2 separate regions of the Homo sapiens genome follow, and region 1 is linked to region 2. The links are contacts of gene promoters, found by promoter capture Hi-C in blood cells and fetal thymus (Javierre and others, 2016). All regions are on one chromosome and are shown on one strand. Each heading gives the region's core, a stretch centred on a gene start or on the middle of the fragment in contact. The rest is flanking DNA. Distances are from core to core; before and after follow the strand shown.

What was found. The method cuts DNA at HindIII sites, captures the fragments that hold promoters and counts their contacts. A CHiCAGO score of 5 or more calls a contact.
Region 1: a contact is called between a fragment that was not itself captured here and the fragment with the promoter of MET in region 2, in 1 of 17 cell types (naive B cells). The highest score is 5.1, in naive B cells.

What each region holds. Positions count from the first base shown.
Region 1 is chr7:116,130,972-116,135,407 of GRCh38, forward strand. It overlaps a transcript of TFEC not described here. Among named protein-coding and RNA genes, the nearest start is that of TES, 77 kb to the right of the region's middle. The HindIII fragment of the contact is 1,045 bases long and covers 2,024-3,068 here.
Region 2 is chr7:116,670,791-116,675,562 of GRCh38, forward strand. MET (MET proto-oncogene, receptor tyrosine kinase) reads left to right here and starts at 1,406. Exons shown (of 21, transcript NM_000245.4): 1 at 1,406-1,787. The region is part of intron 1 of COMETT (cytosolic oncogenic antisense to MET transcript); the gene reads right to left. RefSeq lists silencers at 1,014-1,063, 1,194-1,323, 1,384-1,573. The HindIII fragment of the contact is 13,748 bases long and covers 1-4,772 here.

The sequences.
Region 1 (4,436 bases), core at 1,296-3,795, 540 kb before region 2:
TTTTCTATAAAGTAGTATACACACAAATTTATGTGACACTGTATGGATGAACTTTCCTTTTACTTTAATAGAATCTACATTAATGTGTATTAATACTAATTATATTTGGTACGTTTAAGACCCAAGATCTGATTTATGCTATTGCCTTATGTGCAGCAAATTTTTAAAAGTAAGTTGATTTATAAATAATTATTAAATATACAATCTAGTTGGAAAACAGATGTGACTGCATTTTCACATCATCTGTAAACTGAGCCAATATGTCATCAATGCCATCCATATGCTCATGGAAATAATGAATAAATATTTTAGACAGGATAGAAACCATGTGCCTTTGAACAGGGCACAAAGACCAGCCACTGTAGACTTCCTTCTGAGGTAATAGGAACCCACTAATTAGGACTAGTCTGTAAGACAGCTAAAATTCATTAACAATTCTATCATCCATAACATAGATCTTTACCTTGGTCACAAAGATATCATGAAAGTTTATATCTAGAATAGATTTCTCATTTACTAATTTAGTAACCTTACATATATTAGAAAAGCAAGTGTAATCATATTATGTTTTTATTATTTTGAACTAACTGCATACAAAATATTGCCTCATAGAAAGAGTCCTCAAAAATAAATAAGAAAATAAAGTAATGGTTTTAATTAGCACTGTCCACTGTCTATATTTAAACATTTTTTTCTAGCTAACATGAGTGTACTTGAAAAAAAATTGTTTCCTCAAGTATTGTTCCATCTTGTTTCTATCATCATCTCCACTCCCCTTAAAGAGTTTGCTAAGCAATGATAAAATTTAGATTAGCCTCTGCCCTAAGAGGTATCCATTGCAATAATGATTTACAGTATTAGTACCCTTGAGATATTAACGCACATTAAATATAAAGTGAATTGAGATGAGCTTTTCCCACAGGGGCACAATAAATAGTAAGATCCAGGTGCTTAATTATTGTTGCCACTTTCTGCACTCCTAAAAATTTTCCTTTGAAGTTTTACTCTTGCTATAATCATATTAGGTCATTATGCTTCACTTTATGCTCCAAAAGCCTGTAAAGCACATTTGATGGCGAGGTCAGAATGGTTGGCTTTTTTTCTTTCCATCATAAAGTATGCTGTTTCCCCTAGATCAGCAAAACATGCATAGCAGGTGATAAGATGTACTGCAGAGAAGCCAACGGCATCATTTTAAGGAATTAGTGCATAAAGTTGGCCTATAAGTCAAAGAAATGTATGTAATCAAAATTACTCATGGAAATCCCCTAACTCTACCATAAACCATATCCTTTAGTGTTGTTTATATGGCACTGTTCAAAAATGCTATTTCTTAATGTTTTCTTAAGGATTTGAACAAATTTCTGCTTCTTGGGTCTGGCATCAGGTAAAGTAGTTGGCTATTCAGGTCTACAGTGAATTTTTTTAAATATGCAAAAAAGATCAAAGCTTAGAATATTATCAGCTAAGTATAACTCTCGAAAAACTGAATATGCTCAAGGATCAGGTCTAATAAAGTTAATAATTTTTACAGCTTCATCAAAGGCAATCCTAAGTAAAGTTGGCATTGTTTTCTTTAACTGTGAGTGCATGGCAGTGAAGAATATAATGACTGACTAGCGGTTTGGTGCCACGGCCTTCATTCATAAAAAGGCACATGCAATTTATTCACCATTGCTTTTGCACAGTAAGTGCAAATATTCAAACTGTGAAAATGGAAAATAACATTTTAGCAATAAAATGTTTTAGGAGACACCTCGGGAACTATAGAACATTCTTTGAGAACTATAGCGTTAAAACAACTTTTAAACAAGCTATAGAATATTAGTTAGCTGGAAAAAAGTGAGAAATCTTTTCCTGAAATGGCAAAGCATCATTAAATTTTGTTGTGAATGTTTACAGTGAATATTTTAATTAATATGCATATAAAATTTCACCAATTGTGTTTTTTGTCTTTTATCTCATTTATCTGTCCTCTTTTCAATACATTGTCAACTTTGTAGCTTTGTTTCATTAATTTTTAAGCTTTTCTTCAAAACAGTTTTAAGACTACTTTAGAAAATAAATTATTACAGTGCTTAAAAAGAAAATAAATGTATGCAATAAAAGCTATCATCGATTTTTAAGTTGCTTATAATCTTTTCAGTTTTTGTCAATTTTCAAAAGTTACATAATGACAAAGAGTGATTTAATTTTTGTTTACCTCACAATACCTTATGTTTAGATTCTCGGCAACAAAACTACAAACGTGTTATGTACCAAACGAAAATAATTCTTTCCTTAATTAGAAAAGTCTGGCCAGGCACGGTGGTTCATGCCTGTAATCCCAGCACTTTGGGGGGCCAAGGCAGGCAGATGACTTGAGGCCAGGAGTTCGAGACCAGCTTGGCCAACAGGGTGAAACCCCATCTCTACTAAGAATACAAAAATTAGCCAGACGTGGTGGCGTGTGCCAGTATTCCCAGCTACACAGGGGACTGAGGAACCCCACAAAGTGGACATTGCAGTGAGCTGAGATCACGCCCCTGCACTCCAGCCTGGGTGACAGAACAAGACTCTGTCTCAGAAAAAAAAAAAAAAAGTAGGGGGATGGGGAAAAACATTCTTTGCCAATAAATGATTTCTGGGAAACATAATTTAATCATTTAAATTAAAGACTTTTCATGCCCCTCTTGTTGATTTCCCAAAAATGTAGCTTTTTTTTCCTGACTGAATTTTCTTTGAAATAATTAAAAGAAAAAGAAAATTTACCTCTTTACTTCTCATGTTCTTGTGTTATCTTTCAGAGCTTAACCTATGGTACTGTAGTAAACGCTAAAACTTTATGAATAGCAGCTTTTTAGATGCCTAAGACATCTTTAAGATTAGAGAGCGATGTTTATGAAGTAGAATACTATTGAATTAGTTAAGCAGGTAAAAGAGAAGAACAGGTCCTGAGCAGTAATAATGCAAAACAATAGCAACAACAAAAAAAAATTAGATCAACATAAGCTCCTGATGTGTAATCACTGACAGAAAAAGCTGGCAAACCAAGCCAAGAGATAGCAGGCCAGTCAATCCAGACTAAAAGCTTAAGCTAAAAATAACTGCCTCACTAGGTCTTTGTAGAAAAATTCTACATGCTAAGGATGTCAACTTAAATGTGTCTGGTTTATGAATAAGAATATTTAAGAACAAAGGCTGCATACATTAAAAGAAATAAAATTAATATAAAAGACTGAGTCAAGTAAATGATCTGTGTAAGTTCAGAAACTTTTAGATTAAATAGTTGAAAAGCTGTGAAACTAGAATGACAGCTTTTATCCTTTATCATATTTAAAGCAGGGTGTCTATGCTTGACTTCTGTTCTCATGCTAGATATAAAAAATAAGAATAAAAAGAAAGAGGGAAGGAAAAATGTATACCATATATTGCTGCTTCTAAATCAATTACACATTGTACACAAATTGAATCACCTCTTACTTAAAAGCTAATCAGAAACATTACTATGCACAGAAATGACCTGTTTTCCACCTAAATTCTAGTTCAAACCCTTCCCTTTGGGTCTCTGAAATTTTTTTTATTCACTTCTTTTTATTACTTTTACATATCAAGAGTAAATGTGGTTAGTTTTGAATCATTTATTTTGAAGGAAAAAATTACATGAAAACAGGTTAATAAGACTGTGAGCATTGCTATACGAAAAATTAGAAGTCTTCTTCGCCCTTTTTTGATAACTGCATTAAGTATATGAACCCAAATACTTTCTCTAATTATACACATCTTACAAATATGTTCATATTAATGGAAAACAAAAGGTATGCTATAGCTTTGTGGTAGAGTGGAAATAAATGCACCAATTATACTTAAAGTATTAAATAATGTTATAATACTGGCCTTTGAAACTAAAATAAATGTCTTATTTATAAAGCATCAGGAAAACCTCTTCAGCTCCTGCTCAAATACGTTGCACATTTGAATAATGCCAGTCTCTGTAGGACTTGATATTGGACTATGAATATTTGACCTAGAATATCATTAACAACTTATACATTTTAAAATCACATTTTGAAATGCGTCAAAACTAAGATTGTAGTGAATTTAATTTCAAAGTCATACTATCCCTCCTTTTATGCTGTATGTGGTAATCCTTGATTTTTTTGCACTGATGCTAAATGTTAATGAACAGAGCCACCGTGTACCATTTCACCTGGAGCAATGAAAACATTAAAATCTCTTTAGAAGCCTGAATAAAACTTTATTTTATAAATATAATCCATGTTAAAGCTCCACCGTTTCACTGTACTTTTGAAATAAGGGCACATGGAAAATATGGAAGCGTTTCCTTTGAGATAGCTAACTAAAGCTACAAAATGAGCACGGTACAGCATTTCCAAGGAACATGGTTCAAAAGTTGTACGATTACTACTAAGGTTGTTTTATTCTCTACCACATTT
Region 2 (4,772 bases), core at 156-2,655:
GCTATAGTCATTGATAAATTATGCCATGCCGTATCAGGAAATCTCCAGTCAGGCCGCGTTGTTTATTTAGCCTGCTGAGGCCTCTTGGTATGGTGTGAAGGACACCTGACTGGGCTGAAAGCTAAGTTCTAACTTTGCCCCTCTTACTAACCAGCTATGTGACTCTCCTGGGAACTTTTAGGGACTCAGTTTCTTTACCTGCAAAATGGTTCAATGCAAGACTTTAGTAACGTAATGGGAACTTTCCTTTTCCATAAAACTGGGGAATCAAGAGGTAATCTCTTTTGAGGACTGAAATCACTCTTATGTAACCTCTGGTTACATTATCATTTCCAAGTGCCTGGCACTTGGGAAATGATAACTATTCTTACTACATTTTTCTATGTTTCATTCTGTAGTAAATAAGAACTGAACCTGCATAGTAACTGTTATTTTAACCCATGACTTTCAATAACGAAGATATCTATGTCTCATTATCTATTGCCATGATTGAACAAGTTGGTATGAGAGCCGGAACGAACTCAAGTTCTAACCGGCAATGCCCGTTCCTTAGATCCTATTACCTTTGAGTGTTCATTTACTCTTGTAGGTGCCAATTTTTATAGCGAAATACAAAGTTATCCCAACACAATTACTCCTAATAGAGTTCACCGAGGCCCCAAAAGCTCTTTTTTAAAAATCATCATAAGATTTCAACATTCAAGAATTAAACTTTTGTTCTGTTGTGCTTATTCATCGCTATTTGCCCAGTTATTTAATCAGCCTGCTTCCGGCTATGGAAAAAAAAAAAAAGAAAAAAAGAAATGGAAGTCTCCTCAGGGTTAAACTCCTCTGTTGTTCTTCCTTGCAGAAATTTGAGTTATTATAGTAGAGGATAATCGTTGCATAATGAAATCATTGGGACAATTCGTCCATCCACTTCTACCTCCGCCTCTAACAATGAACTCCTTGTTTCTGCGGTGCCCAAATCTCTCTAAACCCGGGTGGGCGCGGGGCGGTTAGCGGAGACGTGGGAGAGGCCGAGAGCAAAGCTCGCGCCCTTCCCGGGGTCAGCGAGCGGGGTGCCAGGAGGGTGCGCGCCCTGCATCTGAGCCCGGGGTGACACTCGCCTCCCAAGCGCCAGGAGGGGGAGACTCGGTCCCGCTTATCTCCGGCTGTGCTAACTTCAGACTGCCTGAGCTGGGGGAGGAGAGCGCGCAGCCAGGGCGAGAAAACTTCTCCACCTAGAAAGTTTCACCTTGTCGTGGGCGGGGCAGAGGCGGGAGGAAACGCGACCCCCGCGGGGCCAGGCGCGGCGCGGACGGCAGGAAGGGCGGGGGCCGATTTCCCTCTGGGTGGTGCCAGTCCCCACCTCAGCGGTCCTCGGAACCCGCGGACTAGGGGACGGACAGCACGCGAGGCAGACAGACACGTGCTGGGGCGGGCAGGCGAGCGCCTCAGTCTGGTCGCCTGGCGGTGCCTCCGGCCCCAACGCGCCCGGGCCGCCGCGGGCCGCGCGCGCCGATGCCCGGCTGAGTCACTGGCAGGGCAGCGCGCGTGTGGGAAGGGGCGGAGGGAGTGCGGCCGGCGGGCGGGCGGGGCGCTGGGCTCAGCCCGGCCGCAGGTGACCCGGAGGCCCTCGCCGCCCGCGGCGCCCCGAGCGCTTTGTGAGCAGATGCGGAGCCGAGTGGAGGGCGCGAGCCAGATGCGGGGCGACAGCTGACTTGCTGAGAGGAGGCGGGGAGGCGCGGAGCGCGCGTGTGGTCCTTGCGCCGCTGACTTCTCCACTGGTTCCTGGGCACCGAAAGGTAAAATTGCAGCCCCTTTCAGATCCAGTACCCAATCCCTCGCCTCAGGGGTTCTGCTTTCTTTGTTCCCCTAAGAGACCTGACTGCTGTTCCAGGGGGCAAAACCACGTAGGTGGGCTAGAGTTTAGGGGCTTCGGAAACTGAAGAGACGTGGCCACGGCGAGGACGAAACTAGAATGGGGCTTGTCTTTTTAGGGGGTTGCTTCTGATGGCCACCTGTATGACTTAGGAGGGAGAGGGGCGCTGGGACAGTGGGTGATGTGTGACTGTTACGGCCCAGCAAGTTTTAAAGCTGGGATCTGACTCAGCCCTTACAAAAGGGATCCGGTCATCCTCGTCCCACCGTGATGCAGCTGGCAAGGTTTGAGCCGAGCTGTTTCCTTGTTCCCAGCCTTGCTTTATCTGTGTTATGTTGGGGTCCTTCCAAGGGGCAGGTGTTTCTGTGAAAGTCTGAATTCATTTCTGGCAATCACGCGGGGCTTGTGATCCATCAATTTTCCATCGTACCTTATCTCTTTCTGGGGCTTGTGGTGGACATCTATCTTATTAGGTGAAATAGATTATAACCAGAGGCTGAGCGATGTGGCCAGTCGTAGTGCTGACCCGATAATTAAAGCACCAGTGAAAGTACTTTCCCTGACTATTGTCAATGCAGAATTTACTCCGAAGTACGGTTTCCCATTCATATCTTTCATGTTTTAAAAGAGCCATTTGCTAATTTGGCAGTTGGAGAGGGCTCCAATGGCTCACGCATGAATAGTTGCCCAGTGTATTTTACCTTATCACAGTTTTATGTTCAAAGGAGCCCTCGGGCAGAATGAAATATTGTCAACTCTCTTAGGCAAAATAATCAAGATACTTTAATTGCTATGTTAAGATGGTCCATGAATGTGAGAGGATTGTAAGAACTGACGTTGGAGGCAATATAGACTATCTGGACCCTCTCTTGAATTTTAAGAAGACTGTTCACATTCTGTAGCTTTGGGTGGGGGTTTATTCTGTCGCTTTCATCAGCCAGACACATGCACATTGCCATGCAAATGGATTCAGAAAAACATTATATTCCCTTACAGCTAAACTATTATAGCTGACTAATGAATTTTTTCTGCATGAAGATGATCTGAAAATGATGTACATCATGTTTCTCTGTGCTACAGGGACATAAATTGCATTTTTATGTAAACAGTGTAAGTGGTGCTTGGATTATTTACAGGTACATAGCTTTCCTTCCTTGATCTAAGCTAATTGAGCTTTGTTTTGAACGTGTAAACTTCCATAATGGAACATAAGTGAGGTACTTTGGTTCCTATCATTTGCAAGTCTGTGGTGTATTCAATGTTCATTCTTTTTGAACTGCTGAATAACAGAGGGAAAATTTACATCATTCATAAGAAATTTTGGTAGTACAAAAATGTGTCTGATAGCCTATAAAATGTACTGCTGTTTTAAAAATTCTATTCCGTTTTCAAACTTAATGGTGTATAAGCTATAGTTATTAACTTAAATATATTTTGCTTTTAACATGATGGAATTTGTGGCATATAGAAGACAGTCTGCCGACTACTGCTTTTTCAAAATTGCTTTGTTCTTGATACATGGCAGTAGGGGTTTACATTAGATGTATACTACATGCTTTCAAAATTAGTTGATGGAGTTTATCTTCATGATAAAAAATGTACCAGATTAATCATAGCCAGTCAATACGAAAGCTCATAACTAATATTTTCACTACTTTTAAACCTATAATAGAGAAAAATGACCCTTTGCTAAGCAGGAGAAATACCCATATTTTATAAATTCCTTTTAAGACTATGTAAGTATATGCCTTGCATTAATCTTGAAATCTTTAAAAAAAAATTGTCTTAATGAGGGCTAGACTAAGAAATACATTTCAAAAATCAATTTCCTTAGCTGTTTTTAAAATAGTGTTTGAAGTAGCATTAGTCATATTATCCTTCTGCAGATCTACATAATAGTCTCAAATTAACTTTTTCTCAAATGTGGTCATCTCAAAACAACGTGAATAACTCAGAGGAGCTAACATCCTCTAACTGGCTTATTTTCTCCAAGTGGCTGCACCAAAGACATGGCAACACCCCCATGGTGAGCACAGTTCCTCACACATTCAGATTACCTCCCATTTCTCTGTCCTCTTCCTCCTCAACCCTTTCCCTTGGTTTGGTCAGAGCTGCTTTCAAGGCCTTCCGTGCCCCCATTTCTCCAGCCCAGTTTGCTCGTTTCTTCTTTAGGCATTAGGCTTAGTGATTCTCGCCAGAGCCATCTACGCTTTCTTTTCCGTGGTCTAAATCCCTAAGATTTCCTTGGTCTGCTGTGTTTATTCATAGGATACTCAATTTCCTCATTGTGCCCTCTTAAGGGGAGAAAATGTATGTAGAAACTCAAGTGTCCGGAAGTGAGCCTTCTTTTCCTGGCTGGTGTATGCTGAAACTAGTGTTTTTGACACCAAGCCCTTAGGGCAGAGTTTCTTCATGGGTTTTGCTCAGTGCAAAATAAATAGTCACTTCTCAGTAATAAATGATAGATACACTGACTAATGTTAGTTCAGAATCACTTTGATGATGTGTTCTCAACTGACACTGAGTTGCTGCTAGATCCACATTTGCCTGACCAAAAATAGCTAGGACCTATAGGTAGAGTATCATATGTGCTAGGTACTACAGCATTTTCTTTAAAAGAAAGAAATGGAATCTGCCCTTGAGAAGTTTATGATCTAGATACACAGACAAATATCACATATTAAATGAACACAAATTCATAATTATTAAGAGGACATCACATGAGAAACGCTTTCAAAATCATCCTATTTGCTATGAAATAATAGAATTTTTTTTTAAAAATCAAAGTTTGGAACTTAAAAACCTTAACATTTTCAAGCTGTTTCTGCATACATCACCTTTCTGATACCAAAACGACCTTACAAGATAGGCAAGTCTGATAACATCTTAACATTCTTATGTTATAGAC